Linked DNA regions of Homo sapiens: regions 1 and 3 are each linked to region 2. The links are contacts of gene promoters, found by promoter capture Hi-C in blood cells and fetal thymus (Javierre and others, 2016). All regions are on one chromosome and are shown on one strand. Each heading gives the region's core, a stretch centred on a gene start or on the middle of the fragment in contact. The rest is flanking DNA. Distances are from core to core; before and after follow the strand shown. Region 1 overlaps AZI2 (5-azacytidine induced 2). Region 2 holds the start of TOP2B (DNA topoisomerase II beta). Region 3 overlaps CMC1 (C-X9-C motif containing 1).

The links. Contacts are between HindIII fragments. The CHiCAGO score rates a contact against its expected background, and 5 or more counts as called.
Region 1: a contact is called between a fragment that was not itself captured here and the fragment with the promoter of TOP2B in region 2, in 3 of 17 cell types (fetal thymus, total CD8 T cells and naive CD4 T cells). The highest score is 6.0, in fetal thymus.
Region 3: a fragment that was not itself captured here is called in contact with the fragment with the promoter of TOP2B in region 2 in 1 of 17 cell types (activated CD4 T cells); the score reaches 6.3 in activated CD4 T cells.

The regions. Positions count from the first base shown.
Region 1 is chr3:28,343,960-28,347,093 of GRCh38, forward strand. All of the region lies in intron 1 of AZI2 (5-azacytidine induced 2), which reads right to left. Among named protein-coding and RNA genes, the nearest start is that of ZCWPW2, 3.2 kb to the right of the region's middle. The HindIII fragment of the contact is 728 bases long and covers 967-1,694 here.
Region 2 is chr3:25,663,657-25,666,562 of GRCh38, forward strand. TOP2B (DNA topoisomerase II beta) reads right to left here and starts at 1,251. Exons shown (of 36, transcript NM_001330700.2): 1 at 573-1,251. The coding sequence starts at 641. It overlaps MIR4442 (microRNA 4442), which reads right to left and starts at 1,283; the gene lies at 1,217-1,283. RefSeq lists enhancers at 1-30, 988-1,551 and silencers at 318-506, 461-820. The HindIII fragment of the contact is 4,216 bases long and covers 1-1,896 here.
Region 3 is chr3:28,243,092-28,246,095 of GRCh38, forward strand. All of the region lies in intron 1 of CMC1 (C-X9-C motif containing 1), which reads left to right. Among named protein-coding and RNA genes, the nearest start is that of CMC1, 3.0 kb to the left of the region's middle. The HindIII fragment of the contact is 1,233 bases long and covers 674-1,906 here.

The DNA.
Region 1 (3,134 bases), core at 81-2,580, 2.7 Mb after region 2:
TTTATAAATCAAAAGTTGCATATATTATGTAAGAAAACAATGGCATAAAAGGATTTTTCAAGTTTTATACCATTATTCTATATATTTATTCTATACACTATAAACATTACTTAGAATACGCGGAAAAGCAGCATCAAATTGCTTATCTGTCCTAAAAGTTATGTAAGAAATAGCCATATATTAAAACACACAATGTGCTAGCACCACATATATGTATCAACTTTTATTGTTTTAAAATAACTGTCATTTAAATTTGTTATAAAATGGAAAATTAAAATTTTAATTACTATCCCTGCAAAAATTAATATGAAATCACAAGCATGAGAATATTAATACTTATCATATTAGTCTGTACAAACCAGACTTCTGGAGAGTAAAAGCTACAGGTCCAGGGAAAATGAGATCATAGAAAGGAAACAATACAAGGCAGATATCCCATTATATTTATTAATATAATGAAAGGAAAACTGTTAGCAAAGTAAAAAGTAGGCTATGTGTTGCCTTTGGTGTTATTGCTACGCAAGCATCCTTTATAAAATGTATTTCTACAGAGAAGTAAAGGGAGCTGTGGTAATCAGTCTCATAATAAAGATTCAGTTTTAAACACTTTTGTTGCAATGAAATGGCTGTGTGTGTGTATCCAAATCAGCTGGCCCATGAAGTCTGATTTTCTAGATAAATGGTAAAAGTGTAACTGGCTATTATTCTATTTGACAAACTAGACCAAGCTAGTTATATCATTTAACATTTGAAGAAACTTAACATTATACTGAGTCTTATTTATCATAATTTAAATGCTCTTAAAATAATAAATCTTTGTTAGCATTAATCTTTAAAAAATAAGTGCCATGAGCAGAATATTGTTATCAAAAATTAAAATTACCAAAGACTAGATAGTATTTTAAATAGTCTAGCAGAAACTGAACTTTCAAAACTTAACAAACATCAAAACACTGTCCAAAGACAAGCTTAAGTGGACTTCTCTCAGTGATGAAAATCAGTAATAAATGTATTCCACAGGGACATTCCATAAATAAATTTTGCTTTTCCAAGGGCATTCTAAGAAGCTGGAGATGACTGAGGGCAGTGTTTGACAAAGGTGTGGACCACTGCCTTAGAATTCCTCTGCATTCTGTTAAAAAATACTGATTCCTAGCTTCCACTGCAGATCTATGCAAATCAGAATATCTGGGGTGAAAAACTGCAAAGTGCACTCTGAATAAGCACCCAGGTGATTTTAAGTCATATTCCAATTTGAGAACCACTCATCAGAAAGAACAAAGCCAAGCAGTTACCACGTAATTTACAGAATTCCAATTCTTAGTATCCTTGAACATTTGTGGGCACAGTTAGTTCTATGTTATGAATTAGTAAACACCCTTTAGATTTTATTTTTAATATTATAGAAAGTAATTTCACATTCATCATCTCATCACAATATAGTGGGGTGTTAAATAAAGCACATTTATAGGCAAATGTATCTATATGTACTCATGCAAACATTTTATATATTTGGCAATTAAATTTTGTTTCTCCTTAGAGGTTTACTTAAATATAAAAAGCGAATTAGAAAAGATTGAGGTAAACACTATTGACAATTATTTTTGAGAACAATGAAATTTCCAAGAATGATAAAAAAGAAAGGGCACAATTTGTCAGATAAAGTAGGTAGAAATAAGAACAGTACTACCTGAAGCTTGGGGAGAAACACAGGAAAAAAAAGATTCAAACATTATTTATTAGAATTATTTTAGAAGATCTTAAATTTCAGTCTTCATCATGGCAATCAACACCAAGAGAACTCTCAGTTGTTCATATGCTACGTATGTCAAAGTTTGGGATACTAGAAAACATATCTGCTGATATCAGACTGGTCTTTTTTCTAGGAATAAATATGATTATCCTGTCATATTTCATCATCTTTATATCTGCCATTTTCATATTTCATCATCTTTATATCTGCCATTTATTGATCACTTACCATATGCCAGTCACTAGTGCTTTCACATGCATTTTTCTACCACTTAGCTAAGTACTGTTATGAAGAAAGTCTTAGAAAAGTTAAATACCTTACCTATAGCTACACAGCTAATCAGTGGCAAAGGTGAGATGTGAACCTAAGTAAGCTGTCAGAAGTCTATGGTCTTAATACAACATTCAAAGAGGCAATACAAAAGGGATTCTGGTTATCCTAAGAATATGGACAAGGCATAACTATGTCAAAAAGAACACTTTCCCAGGATTCAGAAACACAGATTCTAGTCTAGGATTTGCAACCCTGATTATAGTTTAGTTCGCTTTACCTCTCTAGATCAAAATTTTCCCACCTATACAGAATGATAGGGTTAGACTACATCACTAAGATGCCACCTTACTAAACTGTGAAGGCAAAAGTTTAATACAAATACAGAACAATGGCAACCTAAACAGAGAGAAGGGAATTCACATTTATGCCAGGAACTGCATAAAAGGTATGGTACACACATTATCTCAAGTCCACACCAAACTTGGCAAGAAAGGTATTAGCACCATGATAAATGGGGAAATTGAGGCTCAAAGAGGTGAGGTAAATTCACCTCACCACAGCAGTATGTGACAAAACTGAAGTTTGAATCAAGGCCTATATGGTAGGCTCTTTATTCCATATTGCCTCCTGAAGTAAATCATATTTAGAATTTTCACCACCTTTCTACCTCTGAAAAGTTAGGATATTCCCGAACCTATTTCGTACAATCAGTCAAAATACTATGGAGCAAGGATTAAGTCTTACGAAGACGAACAGACCAATGCTTATTCCCCTTTCTCAATTTGTAAAATAGCCTAACTAGTTTATAAAGAAGGGTCATCAAGTACCTCTTTTCAAAACATCATCTCTTAATCTGTGTACATTAGCAATAAAAAGCCCTGTAATTCAATAAATGTCCAAAAATGTACTCAACATTAGATATACAATATGAAGAAAAACTCCAGTTCCATTTTTATGACTCTTGAGTTATCCAACAAACTGCGTTAGTCCAGAAATCAGTTTGTATTGCACAGATCAAGACTCTTCCAGAGTTAGCATAGGTATGAAGAGCAGTCTACTTCTTTTCATCCCTTTCATACAGTAATACCTCTAATGCAACTAAGCATCT
Region 2 (2,906 bases), core at 1-2,500:
GTATTAACTGCTGTGAAAGTCATCCCCAATGCGCTCTCAATTGAGCGCATTGAATGAGGCTTTCCAAATTGAAGTGCAAGTTGCTGTAGAAATCCCAATGCATTCTTCTTTGAGATTAAAGCCCCAGAAAGAGCTGCATTTAGAATACACACACACACACACCCCTTTTCCCAGGGTTTTCTTGAACTACATTTGGAGAAAATGCTGCCCCACACAGACACACTTGCATTATCGCCATCCCCACCATTTCAGGTTCGGCTGCCCCGGAAGAGTCTGGTTAAAAAGAAAAGAGAGGAAGCGGGGGCTGTATGTTACGTTCGCGGTTTTGTCCCCCCAAAGTTTCAAGTACACATTACGCTCTGGCAGTCAGGACTTCCAGAGACGTACAGAGAAAGAAAGAAAGAAAAGGCGCGGGGAGCGGGCTGGAGGATTCTGCAAGCACAGGCCCCTATGGAGCGCCCGTTCGGGGGACGGGATTTCCCTCCCTTTCCCCTCCCCCGCCCGTTCGGAATTCCGCCCCCGCCGCGGGCCCGGAACAATGCAGCCGCCCGTCCCGGGGACCAGCCACTTACCACCCAGGTCAGTGCCCCGTTGCCGCCGCCCACGCCGGCTCCCGCGCCGCAGCCACCCGACTTGGCCATGGCGAGTGCCTCCAGCTCACAGGCCCTGAGGCCGCAGCCGCCGCTCCCGCCTCCCTGCGGGCCGCTGGGCCCCGCCGCTCCGCACCCACCGCTCCACTCGCCGCACTCCTAGCCGCGCCGACCCCCGCGCCCCATCGCGAAGATCCGGAGCGGACGTCCAGCCGAGCCCGCTGAGGAGGCCGCGCCGCCGGCTGCCCTCAAACTCGAGGCGCGGCGTCCGCGTCGCCCGGGCCTAGCGCGGCGGCTGAGGAGAAAGCAGGGAGCGACCGGCGGCGGCCGAGCGGCGGCGTTGCCTTCTCGCCCGCCCGCGGGCGCCGCTGCAGGCCGGGCTGAAGCCCGGGCGTGCGAGCCGCGAGGGCGGCCGGGGAGCCCGAGGCGCTCGGACGTGGCGAGGACGCAGAGGTGCCTTGTCCTTCTCACACTCCGCGAAGGCCAGCCACTCGAGTCGCCAGAGTAGTCGTCCCGGTCGCCGCCGCTGCTTCAAAGGCAGCCTTAGCCTCGCTGCAGCCCCGATTTCCTCACACACACACACCGAGAGGGACAATAAACAGAGCCGCCGCCGCCGCCGCCACGGTCACCTCCCTCTTGTCCGGCATAACACCGCACACACACATTTGCACACCGGGGAGAGAGGGAGGGCGCGGCGGCCGCCCCCGCTGTCAGTCAGCGCCATGCTGTCCAATCCGGGCCTTGTCGCCACAGCCTCTCGGCCAATCCCAAAATTCCAAGCCCCCTGGAGGGGCGGGACCCGAGGGGGGAAACGTCATTGCGGGTAGCAACCGAAAGGAAGACTTGGGGTTTTTGTTTGTGTGTGTGTCTGTGGGTTTTCCATTTGAAGGGAGAGCAGGGGCTGCTTCAAGGGTCAATTGAGGGCGGCAAAGGGAAAGGGTCGAATTGGCCTCGGGTCGATTGTAATCCTCCAAGCGTGCTGTTTACTCTGAGACCTAACCGGGAATCCGAAGCGTTTGCCTGGGGCCTCTAAGGATGAGGATGGGGGCGGGGTGGGGATGGGGGTGGCAGGAAGAAGCCGGGGGCCGTCCCAAAGGGAAATTATTTTAAAAGAGCGGTTGTAAACCGCAGGCAAGACGTTGTAGACCACTGGTGCAAGGAGGCCCCGTGACCCGGCCTCCCCAAGGGCCTAAGTGGACGCTGCTGTCGAAAAAAATCATCTCAGACCTTCTCCATCTCCTTCTTCCGTCTCCTCCCCTCACCCCAAAAGAGCATATGGTCAGTTTCAAGAAAACTACATATGAAAAGCTTAAATGATAAGGGACACACAGAGAATGTTCTAGGGAAAGAATGCAGGGTGGGTTGAGTGTTCTATTTCTACTCTTTGTTGACCTTTCTTCTCTGAACAATGCAGAGATGTCACTGTCACTTTTCTCATCTGTCCAGAACTGTGCCCCCTGCCTCTAAGAGGGCATGCTTAATTTTTAAAACTGTTTTCAGTGGAATTTTCAAATGCACAGTAAGGAATAATTTCATTCACATTAAAGCTTTCTAAGAATGAAAATTACCAATACAGCAACATCACAGTCTTTGGCAGATGGAAGATGGCTTTACTTCTTCCTGTTTTTCAGTGTAATTCCACTCAAGTATTTATTGGGCGCACACTCTGCCACGCTGTGCCAGGCTCTGCGATGGGTTCAAAGTAAAAACAAGGCCCCTGATTTCAAACCATTTATAACCTGGCTTGTGAGACAGACTAAAAGGGAGCCAACGATCACCAAAATGAGTACTTGAAGGCATGAAGTGCCACCAAAGAGTTGTGATGAAAGCTTTTTATAAAGATGAAAACAGTATTACTGTTTTTTGAAGAGGTGTTTTTGTGAACTTCCAACTGTGCATTTCCTCTCAAGGGAAAACAAAAATGTCTCAGGTCACATCTTTAAACTGCATTCTGAGTCTAGAGGTGGAGAACTCTGAAACATGGAAATAATTTAAACATAGTTTTTTTAATTAGCTCTCTGATGGCCATGTAACTTTGCCATACTAGGGACTTCAGAACAGTGAAGCCTTTCTTTACCTTGAACTTGGGGTGCAAACTTTTCTGAACCTGACCAAGTATCCATAGCCTTGTTATTTAACTTCCCTGAGCCTCAGTTTAGTGCTTGTTAAAATGATCTTGTGTTCTTACTGTGAGTTTGCATCTCCAAGTACACATGTATTTTGTTTGAAAAGGGGTAATTTTAAAGGCAATGAGTTTTTTTTATGAAGATGTACTAGGTAGAAGCTAAGCTATAAAATACATAGCTGTCTCCTTTT
Region 3 (3,004 bases), core at 40-2,539, 2.6 Mb after region 2:
GTCGCCCAGGCTGGAGTGCAGTGGCGCTATCTCGGCTCACTGTAGCCTCCGCCTACTGGGTTCAAGCAATTCTCCCACCGCAGCCTCCTGAGTAGCTGGGATTACGGGCGCCCGCCACCACGGCCGGCTAATTTTTGTATTTTTAGTAGAGATGAGGTTTCGCCGTGTTCGCCATGCTGGTCTGGAACTCCTGACCTCAAGTGATCTGCCTGACTTGGCCTCCCAAAGTGCTGGGATTACAGGTGTGAGCCACCGCACCCAGCCTAATTATGGTACTTCTGAACTTGAAGTGACCTTTAAAGTAATCTCATACGGATGAGGAGACTGAGAATGAGAGAGGTTAAAGATTTCCATATATCTACACTTTTTGAATTTAGACAAGGAAATTTGGGAAAAAAGTCTTCATACTTGCTCTCTTCACTTGCTTACCTTCCAGTTACTCATAAGCCACTCCAATCTTGTGTTGTACCCAAGGCCACACAGCTAGTTGCTGGTAGAGTCAAGTCTGGTTAGAACCTAGGTAATTTCATTTCCAGTCCAGTGCTGTAGACCATGCCACCTTTTGAGTATTGATTAAACAAAGACTTGTTGAGTGTCTGGTATATGTCCCATATTGTTCTGGACCCTAGGGAACAGTAGTACATAGGACAAACAAAATTCCTGCTCCCAATAAAGCTTATCTAGTGGTAGAAAAAACAATTAACACCCCCTTTTCCCCCTACACAGACACGTGCGTGGGCACACACACATACACACACACATTTTTACAGATTGTGATAAACATGAAGAAAATAATGTCATGTGGTAGATGGTGAAGAGATTAGTCAGTGAAGAGCTTTATGAGGAAGTGTCATTTGAATTGGAATCTGAGGGATGAGAGGAAGCTAGGCAGAGTGTGCTTGGCCATCAGGTAGCAAATACTTAAAATATTTAACTTGAACGTGGGTCAGAGTGTGGAGGGGATCCATAAGGAAAGATATTGGGAAAGTAGGTAGTCACTAAATGCCTAGATATTGCAGAGGCTGCAAGTCCTCAAAGGCTGGCTGTGATAATAAAGCATTTGGATTTTTTCTAATGGCATCAAATGCCTTTAGAATCTTTTAAAGAGGGCAGTAACATAATTTATGTGTTTATTATCCTCGCTACAGTGGTAGCATGCATTGTAGAGGGGTCAGGTCATAAGTGGAAGAAGGGAGACAGGTTAAGGGATAGGAGCAGTAGTCCAGGCCAAATATGTTTGTATCTTAGCCCAAGATGGTAATAGACAGATGGAAAGAAATATACAGCGTCATGAGGAGAAATTGACAGGACCTGTGGTTGCATTGAATAAGGATGGTGAGAGAAAGGGAGGAAACAGTGGGCACCGTGGCTCATGCCCTTAATCCCAGTGCTTTGGGAGGCCGAGGCAGGCAGATCGCATGAGCTCAGGAGTTTGAGACCACCCTGGGCAACATGGTGAAAATCCATCTCTACTAAAATACAAAAAATTTAGCCAGGCATGGTGGCACACGCCTGTAGTCCCAGCTACTCAGGAGGCTGAGGAATGAGAATTTGAGCCTGGAAGGCAGCGGTTGCAGTGAGCCGAGGTTGCGCCACTGCACTCCAGCTTGGGCCACAGAGTGAGACTTCGTCTCAAAAAAAAAAAAAAGAGGAAATAGGGATAATTCCAGTTTTTGTACGTCAGCAGCTGGGTGGAAGGTCATGGTCAAATCTAACAATGTGATTATTGGAAACTTCATCAAAGGAAGGAATGGAAGCAATGGAGAGTAAAAAAGTGGAGTCAGCAAGTAGGAAGGTTTTTTTTTTTTTCCCTAAATTGTTTTGTCTGTTTAAATTCCAGAATAAAATGTATGGAAGCCAGTTTTTTTTTTTTTTTAATTTCGTGTTTATTTGGTTCATACGTTGAAGCTTAGTTTCACATTTTGATGTTTTACTGCTTTGTACAGCCCACGATGGTATTTGCCCATATTGAGTAAGTGAATAATAGATACACCAATTGAGGTTCATTTAGCAAAATCTGTTTTCCTATTGGTTTATTTTGTATTTTCTGTGATCTTTATAGAAGCTTGATTTTCATTTGGCAGCAACTTTTAATTAACTTTGTAGGGTCTCTGTTTTCCTCAAGAAACTGTGAACCCAGCGAAAAAATGCAGGTTACATGCTTATACATAGTTTTATTTACATTATTTTCCTTTTTTTTGTTAATGTAGCAGTAATAACAGCAATCTTTGCTTATTGCCATGTTCCGGACAAATTTTCAGACATGATTATATTCTCAGATGATGGCCCATAGGAACCTGCACCTGATAAATTTGATTTTTCACTTTCTCTATCAACTAAAGTAATTCCTTTCTCCCTTCTTTGACCTTTCCCCTTTTTAGTTAGGTTCTCTTCCCTCTGTCAACATAGATTCATTCTCTACTTATGCAGAATGGGGCATGGCAGCCTAAGGGAAGTTTCCTTAATCAGGTGTGTGTGTGTCCCTGTGTCCTTCTATTGCTGTTTTTTTCCGGGAACTTAATAAAAGGAGGAAGATGGGACAGAGATAGGGCTTAGGGGGTGGAAAGTGGGTTCAAGAATTTCATGACATTCCATGAGAAGGTGTTTAAGGTATATGTGTCTTGGGAAGATTTAATTATGGATGTTCTTGGAACATTTGGGTTGCAGTACTCCAAGTTGGGGTTCTTTCAGTGGTTCCTGTGGGAATGTAGGTAAATTACCTTTAGGGGTACAGGAACAGTACTAGCCCTTACATTTACTAGAAAATTTTAAGTTAGACATGTAAACAAACTTGAAGAATCTTTTTTGAGCATTGTATGTTTAATATGTAAAAGGTTGTGGAGTTGATTAGAAAAATTTTTTATTTTTTTTAGTGATGGGGTTTCACCATGTCGCTTAGGCTGCACTTGAACTCCTTGCTCAGGAGCACTTGAACTCCTGGGCTCAAGTAATCTGCCCACCTCGGCCTCCCAAAGTGCTGGGATTATAGGCATAAGCCACCCTG